2 separate regions of the Homo sapiens genome follow, and region 1 is linked to region 2. The links are contacts of gene promoters, found by promoter capture Hi-C in blood cells and fetal thymus (Javierre and others, 2016). All regions are on one chromosome and are shown on one strand. Each heading gives the region's core, a stretch centred on a gene start or on the middle of the fragment in contact. The rest is flanking DNA. Distances are from core to core; before and after follow the strand shown.

Region 1 (5,594 bases), core at 2,643-5,142, 40 kb after region 2:
ACACTTTTCCTACTAAATGTAACCACTTGCTAACAAATTCCCTTCTTCTCAACAGTCATGTGACACTGCCAGCAGCCTCAGTCCTTCCTAAAAGTGCCCCTGCCCTCATCTCCTTTTGTTTCCGCCATAGCCCCTCTTTCCTGCCAATCCAAAGCATGAGCATCGTTCTGTCTCCCTCACAGCTGCCACTGTGCCCTCAGTTTTAATCTCTCTGCTGGGTACCAATGACTGCAAATCTACTCTGTATTTCCAAAGAACCTCAAATCAATCTGCTGTGACCAAACTCACCAACTCATCCTTCCACCCCAAATCAACTCTCCCTTTTCATGGCCCTAACTTCTGTAGCTCCAAATTGGATTTCAAAGGCCTAAGCCATCAAAACTAGCCTTACAACCTTCAGGGCATCCCATCATTTGCTGGGGATCAATTATTACATCTAAACAAGAAAATGGGGATGTTTAACCAAAATCTGTATTCACCTCCCTGATGCTCCAACTCCTGGCTACCAAGTGTTACAGGTCTGTCTCTATGATATTCCTGGACTCTCTGTGCCCCCACATCCTCTTGTGCTGCCATAATCGGCCTTCTAACATGACTCGTGCCTCCCATTCAACAAATACAATTCTGTTGATACTGTGTACAGGGAAATTGTGCTAGACACTGGGGCTGAAAGGGGTGAGTCGTCAACAAGTGCAGCAGGAAACTTGCCCTTTAAGGACACGATGCAGGGGAGAAGCAGCCATGGAGACAATCAGCCATGGTGCCCTCTTTGTGTGCATGCAGGGACTAGGGTGTTGACATGGAAACAGAGGTTCTGCAGCAGAGTGTTACAGTTGAGATGTGATGGGGAGCAGTGCCTCAAAACAAGGGGGAGTGGGGCCCTCAGAAGCCTCCACCAAAGGCCCAGAGATGGGGCCCGAGGAGAGCTACACCAAGCTGCACCAGTCACAGTGGGACTCTGAGGCTGAACTAAGAAGCCTATGGAACACTGTCCATTGAGCCCAAGTCCATAAGGCTGGCCTTCCCGATGCAACATCCCTGTTCCACACCCTGCCAGTTGACTGTACCCCCACCCCCCAGCTGTGGGCTTCTTTGCTTCTGCCACACTGCCTGGATGGCCCTTCCTCCCTGTCTTTCCACTCCTCACACCCATGCCCCATTTCTTTCCTGTTAATCTGTTGGGTAGGACCCTTGCAACATGCTGCCTTATGTGGTCAATACTTGTACAAGCTCCTTCAAGCACACAGAAATGACTACACAGCCAGACTGTAGAAAACTGGAACTTGGACAAGAATATTGCTCCGATGATCTAACCCTCCTCAGGGGTTGAGGAAGGTGCATGCAGAAGCCACAGGAGTCCTTCAAGGGACCTCTACTTCCCTTGAGTGGCTGTGTCCCATTCTGTTTCTGAGCCCTGTCCTCTGAGGGCCCCAGTGCATCACTACCCCCCCACTTATGGTAGGGCTCACCAGGGGGATAGCCACGCTTGGGCAGCTCCACGCCCCAGGCGTCAGCCACATGGGTCAGAAGCAGGTGTGAGAGGTGGCGGTGTGCATGCTGGTCCCAGTGGACACCATCCCGATGACGGTGCTGTACTGCATGCCGGAAGTGAAAGTGGAGGTCTAGGACATCAAAGCAGTGGTCCCCGGCCAGCGTAGCACTGTAGAAGTTCCCTTCAACCACATCCCGCCGCAGGGAGCCTGCCAGGGGCTGGAGCTAAGTGAGAAAGTGCAGCCTCTAAGAGCCACAGAACGCAGCAGGGTCTGAAAGCAGGGTGTCCTATCTACCAGTCTGCTATCCCATCTCTTGTCCTGATGGGCCTCAGTCACTTGCCTCTGGCAGGAGGAAACCCCCAGTGATACGTTCCCCGAGGGGCATCGCCATGTTCCACACCAGCAGGCAGGAGTCTGGCAATACTTGGTCCATGCGCACAAACACCCGCTCCAGGTTCTCCCGGTAGCTCTCCATTGAGCAGCGACCATATCTGTTGGATAACACACAGGGTGGGCAAGAGCACAAGGGTGGACTGCCTCAGCCGTACTTCCAGCCCCAACCAGTATTCCCCTTTCCCTCGCCCCAACCTGGAGAGATCCCAGAGGCAGGAGTTGATGATCACCAGGTCCGGGGCAGGTCCATATGTCAGCTCTTCCAGAACATCCTCAAGGTACTCGGAGTAAACACGAGTGAGGAAGTAGAAGCGCACAAGGTGGTGGCCAGAGCCCGAGCAGAACTGGCGGACCTCACGATACTGTGTCCCGTTGTGCAGCTCGCCCAGCTGGCCCCCAGCCACCAGCTGGTCCTGTTCAAAGCTCAGCTCCCCCTACCCACCCCCCCCACCCTACTGGTCAGACCCATGCCAGGGAGGAGAACCCTGCCAGGCCAGGGTCTGTGCCCACCCACCACTGACATGGCCACCAAGCTTCCCTCACCTTGGCTTTCAGCTGGGCAGCTGTGAGCAGTGAGTCTTTCTGGAGCAAGAGCACCAGGTCCTTGTACACAGCCCTCTGAACTGGGAGGAGACAGAGATCCCAAGGCTGAGGCAGACCTCAGCCTGCCCCAGCTCCTTCCAAGTCCAGGACCCCATTTTCCCAGGGCTGAGGTGCCCGACACCAGCTCTGTGGTTGACTTAGACGCAGGAGAAAAGATGAGGTTAAAAAGTCCTGGCATTGCCTCTGTTCTGTGTGCCTCCTGGCCAGCAGTATACAGTGACCCAAGATCACCTGGCAGAAATTAAGTCGGCCAAGTCACCCAGGAGACACACTACACAATGCAACGCTTTCGTGATGGAAATTATGGGGAGCTGTCAGGGCGAGAAATGCTGAGCAAGGATGGGCTAAAAAGTGCACAGGTTATTACACCTGTCAGGACTCCTGTGGAAGATGTGTGGGACATAAAAAGAGAAAACCTACTGGACGGAACAGACCAGAAGACAGACAAGAGATGTGAGATGGAAACAAATGGTCCAGACACACTGAACGGGCTGCAAGGTGTGGGACTGGAAGCGTCACCCTAGAAGAGGCACTCACTGGAGTCCCCCAAGATGACCACGAACTTGTTGTGTAGCAGCTGCTGGACTTCCGAGGCCTGGAAGTGGACCATGTCGCTTCGCAGCGGGCGGCGCGGCTCCTCGCTCGACAGACAGAAGACCATGCCGCCACCAGCAACGACAGGCTGCAGGGAGAGGCCACTAAGCAGCGCGATGGTGGGGACTCTGGGCAGGTCAGCCTCAGGGCTAGCCCCTCCGGGGCTGCTCAATGCTAAAGGGAGGAGGTGACGGCAGCAGAGCCATGGTGGCGCCAGCCTTGGTCACACTTGGTACCAGAGGCAGGGGGTCGTCCAGCCAGCAGGCCTCCAGGGCACTGGGGAGCTTCCCGCGCGGCGCCGCCCTGCGCCTCGCCACGTGCCCGCCGCCGTCCCGCGCATGCGCGCACCCGCTCGCGCCAATTACCAAGTCCCGGGGCTCCGCGGTGTTCACCCGCGACCCGGGTATGCCTGCGCACCGCGCGCCTGGCCCGCAGCGGGCTCCTAGCCAAGCCTCATGTTCCCGCGCCCCAGTCGGCCAGTCGGTTCTGCAAAGCTCCCGCCCCGCAGAGACCGTGGGTCCAGGTTAGCCGTCGGTGCACAGCCCAGCGCCCAGCGCTCTCCATGCGAGCGTCGCTGTGGCCCCGACGGCGCCTCAGGCCTCGGCGCCTCGGGCTGCGACGCTCACAGCTTCCACTTCCGTTCACCCATGTCCCGCCCTGAGCGACCCCCAGTGCCCGAAGGGAAAGCAAGGCGATGGAGGTGGCCGCCACAGGGCGCAGGAGCCAGGGCTGGGCCCACTTGGCGGGCGCGAAGCCCAGGTACGGGCTGGGGTCTCGGGGCGGCAGCCAAGTGAGGCTGCCCACAGTGGTGATGGCCGCGGCGGCGGCCTCGCCACGTGACCCGGACGGGCGGAAGCGGAAGTGCCGGCCTGGAGCCCGCTCTAGGTGGGTGTCCCCTCGGTGCTTCCCAGCTGCCGTCTGCACCAGCCATGGACTGCTACACGGCGAACTGGAACCCACTCGGGGACTCTGCCTTTTACCGGTGAGCTGCCCCGCCCTCCCGCCCACGGCCTGGCTTACCCTGCTCGCCCGCCGGCTGGAGTCTCCCGGCGGCGTTCGCCCCTGTCACTACTGGCGCTGGGGTCCGCCCCGCGCCGGCTCTCCCCGAGCGTCTGCCACTTAGCGCACAGCCGCCTTTGGGCAGGGAGCCGGGCCTTCCCCTGCTCCAGAAAAGGAAACTGAGGCAAGCACAGTGGTCACCCCGAAGCCCAGGTCTGTTAGCCTCCGGAAAGATGCTCAGATCTCGCTGAGGGAGGCAGCTCGCGGGTGACAGCGAGTGCCCAGTCTCCTGCCGGAAAGTGCTGCTGAAGTCAGACCACAGGGGCGCTCCGAGGGGGGCGGGATCGCACGGCGGGCGGGGTAACAGTGCTGACCAAGGCTGGGAAAAGGGGGCGAGTCGTCCGTGAATCCCGGAACAGCGGAAGTGGGAACCCCTGGGTTAGGGCAGCCCGCCCATGGGAGTTGTAGAGTCCTAAACCACGGATTTTTCTAAAGTGTAAACCCGTTACATCGTTACCCAGATTAGGATTTTCCCATAGCTTCCCTAATAGGAAAAACTACGAACTTCTCGTGGAACGTCTATCTGTAAGGCAGCCCGTTTGTCTCTCCAACCTCATCTACCGCTCTCCTACCCAAATCTTGCGTTCCAGCTGCGCAGAATTACAAGGCCCTAACCAGTCTGCAGTTTCTGTGGATACTGCCATTTCTCTCTTTATCTCACTGAAGAATTTTGCGCATCCTTCAGGACTTAGTAGTTCAAGGGTTCTTTCTGGAACTGTGCCTGATTCTCCCCCAATAGAATCCTGTGGGCCTCACTGGGCCCAGTGCTAGGGTCTTTTAGGTATGGTCTATTTGTATATTTAGGCGACATTTGTATAGGTTTCTTCTGCTAAACCAGGCTCCTTCAGGGCTGAAAGCATTTTTTTTTTTTTTGACAGAGTCTTCCTCTGTTGCCCAGGCTGGAGTGCAGGGGCACTCGGCTCACTGCAACCTCCGCCTCCCGGGTTCAAGGGATTCTCCTGCCTCAGCCTCCCGAGTGGCTGAGACTGCAGGCCCCTGTCACCACGCCCGGCTAATTTTTGTATTTTTTGCTAGAGGTGAGGTTTCACCATGGTGGCCAGGCTGGTCTTGAACTTCTGACCTTAAGCAATCTATCCACCTTGGCCTCCCAAAGTACTGGGATTACAGGCGTGAACCACTGAGCCCGGCCAAAAGCATGTTTCTTGCTTCTCTTTATCACCAGTGCATATTTAGAACAGTGCTTGCTATGTAATAATTGCCCATTAAAGTTTTTTAAAAATATTTTACTGGGCCGAGCTTTGTGGCATGTTCCTATAGTCCCAGGTACTGGAGAGGCTGAGTTAGGAGGATCACTGGAGCCCAGAAGTTTGAGGGTGTAGGGACCGATGTTAGAACCTGTGAATAACCACTGCACTCCAGCCTGGGCAACATAGCATACTCCCTCTGAAAAATTAAAAATATTATTTTAGGCCAGGCGCAGTGGCTCATGCC
Region 2 (5,799 bases), core at 2,286-4,785:
GGTCTGGTGGAGGTTGAGTTTATGGTAAAGGGTGTGTCCACAGTGAAGGATGCACCCTGCATCCAAGCCCTGCCCAACCAACCCTGGCCTGACTGCCCACCTGAGACTGGGCAGGCCAGGATCTCTGCCCGGAGGCAAGGCGCGCCTCCCTGGAGCCAGGTCTGGGGCAGCAGGCGAATGAAGCGGGCCACCTGGGGCTCCGGCAGGAGGTTCAGCACTGGAGTTTCTGGGTCTGAATTGGCAGGAAATACCTGGGGGCAGCAAGTTCTCTGTTGTGGCTGCTCAAACCCCAGAAGCCTGGCCCAGGACCCAGGGAAGGAGCTCAGGCCTCCAAGCTTACTGTCTCCCCACCCTAGTGGGCTCAGCTAGAGACTTGCACTGTGCATCAAACACAGACCCCGGCCCACAGCCCCTGCCAATGGGCAGCCCTAGGCAGCCTTGCTCTCTGGATTGGACACAGTTCATTAGACCAGTTTGGCCACATGACTCGGGGGAAGCCAATCCTAGAGCTGGCCAGGACTCCACATTGTAGCCTGCTGTAAAAAGAGGTCCATGAGATGCGGAAGTCAGAACCACGAGAAGGCAAGAAGTGATGTGGACCAGAGGCCCCGGGCCAGAAGGGGCACGCCAGGAGGAAGCTGTACCGTGAAGCAGCACCCACCCTGTGGTGGCATTATCTGGGGAGGATGTGGGCATGTCCCAAAGCAGCTGGCTCCCAATGGTGCCTGCCGTGTGCCACCCTCTTGACAACAAGCCACACCCCCCTGGGAAGCCTAAGCTGGCGTCTATTCCTTGTCCTCAGAGGAGCCTCAGCCTAGCCTGGACTGGGTGCCCAACTCCCAGCATGGAGGCCCCAGCCACAGTGGGACCACTCACTGCGTCCATCCCACTGCTGTGGTTCCTACTTCCCCACCAGGTCCGACTGTCATTGCTGAACTGGACCTTGTATGATGTGACCCAGTCATACCTGGCAGGAGAGGTGGAGAGAGATCATCGGTGCCCCCAGGACTCCCACCCCAGTCCTTCTGTGACCTCCTGACCTAGGGTTAGTCTGCCTCACCTCCAGACAGAGTTCCTGCCCTGTGTGATAACACCCGAGAAGCGGGTGGGGTGCCCAGCGTCCACCTGAAACCATGGATCGGCGTCCTGCTCCTCAGCACACCAGGCTCCATCATATAGATCGCCGTCCTCCAGGCCTGACTGCAGACACAGGACATGGTGGTCAGGCCCAGTTGGACAGAGTGGGGCAGGCCAGGACAGAGAGGAGGCAGGAGAGAAGCTCCCAGGGGCTGCCTTCCCTACCCTGAGACCATGGCTCCGAGCCAGGATTACTGACCTGAATGTTGAGCCGTCCTCGGTGTGGTCCAAGACCAAAGGACTGGCTGCTGGATGCCTCAAGCCGGCTATCTGAAACTCGCAGGGACTCCAGACCCAAAGGAGGACAGCCTGGGGCGGGGATAGAACAGTGAGACAGGACCAGAGGGAGGGTAGCCAGGGCAGGTGGGAAGCTGAGCCTAAGGTTGCTCCTGCGCTAGGCAAGCAAGGGGCGTGCCGGTGCCCATGAGGCCAAGAGCTGTGCTGGTAAAGTGCCCCAGGGGCTGCAAGTCTGGGCTGGGCCCCTGGAGAGGAAGTACCTGTTTCTTGTTTCTCAGCGGGGTCGAGGGTCCCTGCTGGAGTGGGGGTCACAAGGGGCCCGGCAGTCACCAGTGGGGTGGGGCGAGTTAGAGTTAGCTTCTTCCGCTTCTTCATAATGACCTTTTTCTTCTTGATGACTCGAATCCGGACATGCTGTTCTGAGGTCCCTTGGGGTCCGAGAGGCACAGCATGGGGGAAAGGAAGAATGGTGAAACCCCGGATGGAAAGGTCTGCCAGCCCAAGAAGACATGTGAGCCCACAGCAGGCCACACCACCAGGATCTAACAGCCTTCACAGGACATCAAAGGCCTGCAATCTGACCCCAACCTGCCTCTCCAGTCACTTCCTTGGCTCCTCCTTCTCCTCCCTGATGTAACTACATGCTTGGCCAGCCTCCCCTGTGAACCTCTAATCCAATGGAGAGCTGCACCCAGCCTCTAGAAACTGTTCGGTTGCTCCAAAGAGCTGAGTCTGGCACTTTACCTCCGGGCCTCTGCACTAGCTATCCCCTCCCCTGTAATGCTACCCCTCGCCTCTGATTTTTTCACCTAATTCCCATTCTTCCTTTGCATCTCAGCCCAGATGCCTTTCCAAGGAGGCTTTCTTAGCTCCAGACTCAGCATCATGCCCCAAAACCCCTGTGCCGCTTCCATTGTTGTGTCTGCTCTCTGGGCTCAGATGGCCTGTCCTGGAATCCATGTCTGCCTGGGTGTCGAGGCTTTCAGGGCTGGGCCTGCCCGCCGGCCCTTCAGCACAAGGCTCTGCCCAGGCAGGTGCTGGGGGTACCCATCGAAGCTCCACAGCTGCCTCCAGAACAGGCTGCCCATTTCCGCATCTGGTGCCCCTGTGCCTTTGCCCGCCGCTTCCTTCTTGGCAGCCCTCTCTCTCTCTCTCTCTCCAGACTCCCCTGACTCGGGGACATCACCCTTCAAGACCCTCCTCCACTTGCCTCCTCTAGAAGCCCCTGAGTGCCCTCCGCTTGCGCTCCTCCTCTCCTATTCCACATCTGGAAAGCTGGGAGGTCGGGCTGCCTTCCTCTCCCGCTCTGCCCCATCCTCCCGGCAGCCTCAGCGAGGGGCTCTCCCTTCTTTCCTTTTGTTCTTTCTCTCCAGCCCTCGCCTTCAAACTCTCTCCTACGCAGTCTTGCTCTGCACCTTGAGAGCTTCTGCCCCTCTGTCTCCCCTCCTGCCAGTTCTGGCCTGTTTTGTCTTTGGTGAAAAGGGAAGGTTTGGGGCTTGGAAGAGGCAGCATCCCACTGGCGCCTGTCCTGGGACTGCTGACTAGGTCTGGCAGGGAACTGGGGCTGCCGAGTCAGCAGCCATTGCTCCCAGCAGGGAGTTGAGGGAGTGTGAGTGTGTATATGTGTGTGTGCACTGTGAGTGTGAGTGTGCGCGCGCGTGCACTGTGTGTGCGCGCACGCGCGTGTGAGTGTGCGTGTGTGTGCATGCGTGTGAATGCGCGCGCGTGTGAGTGCAAGTGTGCGCGTGTGTGAATGTGTGTGAGTGCGCGCGCGTGTGTGCGCGTGAGTGCGAGTGTGCGTGCGGGGTGAGTGTGCATGACTGTGAGTGTGCGTGGGTGTGCGTGTGCCCGCGTGTTAGGGAGGGATCGCCCCACGGGGCAGGAGAGCCGGGCAGTCGGCTTGCGGGGGAGCGGACCGTCGGTCGGGGAACTCACCGTTAGCTGTCTCCGCCGGCGGCTGTGCCGGGCTGCTATGCAGGGCCGGGGTCGAGCCTGGGACCTTGGTGGTCCCGGGCTGCGCGAGGCCCAGCACCGAGTTCCTGGGCGCCCCCAGAGCCGGGCCGACGGCCGGCGCGAAGGCGGCCAGGGCGAGCAGGAGCCCCCACATGGCGGGGATTGAGTGCCAGGGGCGCGCGGGCTACGGCGGGTGGCGGGTCGGTCTCTTCCTGCCGAGTGCGCCGAGCCCCCCGCCCCTTCCTGCCCCCCGCCCCTCCGCAGCCTCCTGCCCGCCCACAGCCCGCTGCCCGCCTCGGACCTCGGAGAGGAGGAGAGGGCCGGGAGGAGCGAGCGGGGCTGACCTCCAAGGGGCCGCCCCAAGTCTCAGGACCGCCGACTCTGCCCTTCCTCTCCGCCGTCTGGGGCCAACCCGCCTCGTTGGCGCGCTGCGCCTTTATAGTCTGCAAAGCCACACTGAAGAGACCAGAGATCACCTGGTGGCCATCAAGTCGACCAACAGGAGGCAAAGCCCCTTATCTGAGCAATTCAGAATGACACTTCCCTATTGTCTAAAGCCACATCTGGTACCAAGCTTCCGTCCCAAGAATTTATAAGTAACTAGAATTTCTGTACGTTTCCGGAATGAGTGCACGTTAAGACCCATTGTGCAAACTTTGCTGACATCAAGGCACCAAAATATCGACAAATGTAACCATTTACCATGACCTAAGTGACTAATGTGGTCCAAATTACCCTGCAGTTCCCCGCAGGGAGCTCAGTCCTCTCTTGCTGAAGCGCCTACTGCGCTCTGCTGCCTCGTCCTTTCCGTCTAATAAAACTTTCCTTTTCAGACCTACACGGTTGTTGATAAGTTCTTTTACCACCCGGGAGCCAACCACTTCCCGGTTCCGGAGCTCTGACACCTCGCCTGGCATCTTGGTGGCCCATACGGGGACTTCACTGGGATTTCCCTCTTCCTTTTTCTCTCTGCTTCCTTCCACGGTCTGGTTCTTTACTCTTTGGGGAACTGCCGGTCCCGGTGGAGGCAGCTCTTCTGTGGGATCCTGAAGCCCTAGAGAAGGGATACCTGGCTGTCCTTGCCCTTAGGGGTGAGGGACTGGCCAGGGCTCTTTTCTGTTTTCGGACTGCCAGTGAACCAGCTTGAGTTCTCGTTGGCAACTGACAGTTTCTGGCCAAGCGCCATCCCCCGGTATTACCCCAAGGCCAAGACAAAAGAGCTATTGCCTGTCAGAGTGGCAGGGCACTTTCATTTTAACACTCCATAAGCCTTGTCCTGGAAGCGGTGGATCTCAATTCTACACAGGGATGCCTCAGGGATCTTGTAGTTCCTTGTCTAAACCCAACTTCGGTTCAATTAATTCAGTTCCATCCAACTCGCCCTTGGATTGCCTCCTTAAAAATGGTCCCATTGGTCTCATTTTGACCCACAAACTCTTAAAAATAAGCATATAAGGCTGAGCACAATGGCTTATGCCTGTAACCCCAGCACTTTGGGAGGCCAAGGCAGGCAGATCACCTGAGGTCCGGAGTTAAAGACCGGGAGTCTACTAAAAATGCAAAACTTGGCCGGGCACAGTGACTCACACCTGTAATCCTAGCACTTTGGGAGGCCGAGGCGAGTGGATCACCTGAGGTCAGGAGTTCGAGATCAGCCTGGCCAACATGGCGAAACCCTGTCTCTACTAAAAATACAAAAAAAAAAAAAAAATCAGCCAGGGGGCTAATTATATGTGGCGGGCACATATAATCCCAGCTACTAGGGAGGCTGAGGCAGGAGAATCACTTGTACCCCGGGGGCGGAGGTTGCAGTGGGCCAAGATGGCGCCACAGCACTCCAGCCTGGGCGACACAGCAAGACTCTGTCTCAAAAAATACAAATAAAAAATAAATAAGAGTTTAAAAAGCATATCCTTTTTTCTAATATTGCTTGGGTTCAATACAAGCTCCCTAATCAATCAATTTGGCCAATTAATGAAACTTGGGATTGCAATGCTACTTTACAACTTAACTGATTTTTTGCCGGAACCTTGGAAAGGATTCAGAAGTCCCATATGTTCAGGTCTTTTTTGCTTTATCCCCAAATCCAAACCCAAAATTACATACAAATTGTCATGTATGCTTCCAAGGAACGTCCTCCCTTCCCGGTTCTGATGTCTTAGATGATCCTTCCTTTTGCCTATTACATCCTCCTCAACCTGCTCACTCTTCACCTACACCCTCTCCATCTGCTCCATTCCCTAGTCAATCTCCCACCCACATACCCAAATACTTTCTCCCCTTCACATACTCTCAGGGGAGTCACATATGCTACTAGTACAGAGTCCTCAGAAAAATCCCCAAAATATTTTGCCTCTCCCTAAGGTGGCTAATGAAGATTTGGGAACAAGCCAAGTTCATGTCCCTTTTCTGATCATGTCTGATCTTTTGCAAATTCAATCCAAGTTGGGTTCATTTAGTCAGGATCCCTCT

The links. Contacts are between HindIII fragments. The CHiCAGO score rates a contact against its expected background, and 5 or more counts as called.
Region 1: a contact is called between the fragment with the promoter of PCED1A here and the fragment with the promoter of CPXM1 in region 2, in 1 of 17 cell types (megakaryocytes). The highest score is 5.1, in megakaryocytes.

The regions. Positions count from the first base shown.
Region 1 is chr20:2,836,763-2,842,356 of GRCh38, forward strand. PCED1A (PC-esterase domain containing 1A) reads right to left here and starts at 3,893. Exons shown (of 8, transcript NM_022760.6): 1 at 3,449-3,893; 2 at 3,027-3,171; 3 at 2,430-2,509; 4 at 2,082-2,320; 5 at 1,834-1,984; 6 at 1,470-1,716. The coding sequence starts at 3,150. It overlaps VPS16 (VPS16 core subunit of CORVET and HOPS complexes), which reads left to right and starts at 3,983. Exons shown (of 24, transcript NM_022575.4): 1 at 3,983-4,065. The coding sequence starts at 4,013. RefSeq lists enhancers at 1,419-1,718, 3,195-3,726, 4,260-4,791. The HindIII fragment of the contact is 13,128 bases long and covers 2,418-5,594 here.
Region 2 is chr20:2,797,092-2,802,890 of GRCh38, forward strand. It overlaps CPXM1 (carboxypeptidase X, M14 family member 1), which reads right to left and starts at 3,536. Exons shown (of 14, transcript NM_019609.5): 1 at 3,310-3,536; 2 at 1,635-1,802; 3 at 1,337-1,446; 4 at 1,061-1,200; 5 at 877-967; 6 at 101-251; 7 at 1-3. The coding sequence starts at 3,481. RefSeq lists enhancers at 1,118-2,105, 2,106-3,093, 3,094-4,079. The HindIII fragment of the contact is 3,566 bases long and covers 334-3,899 here.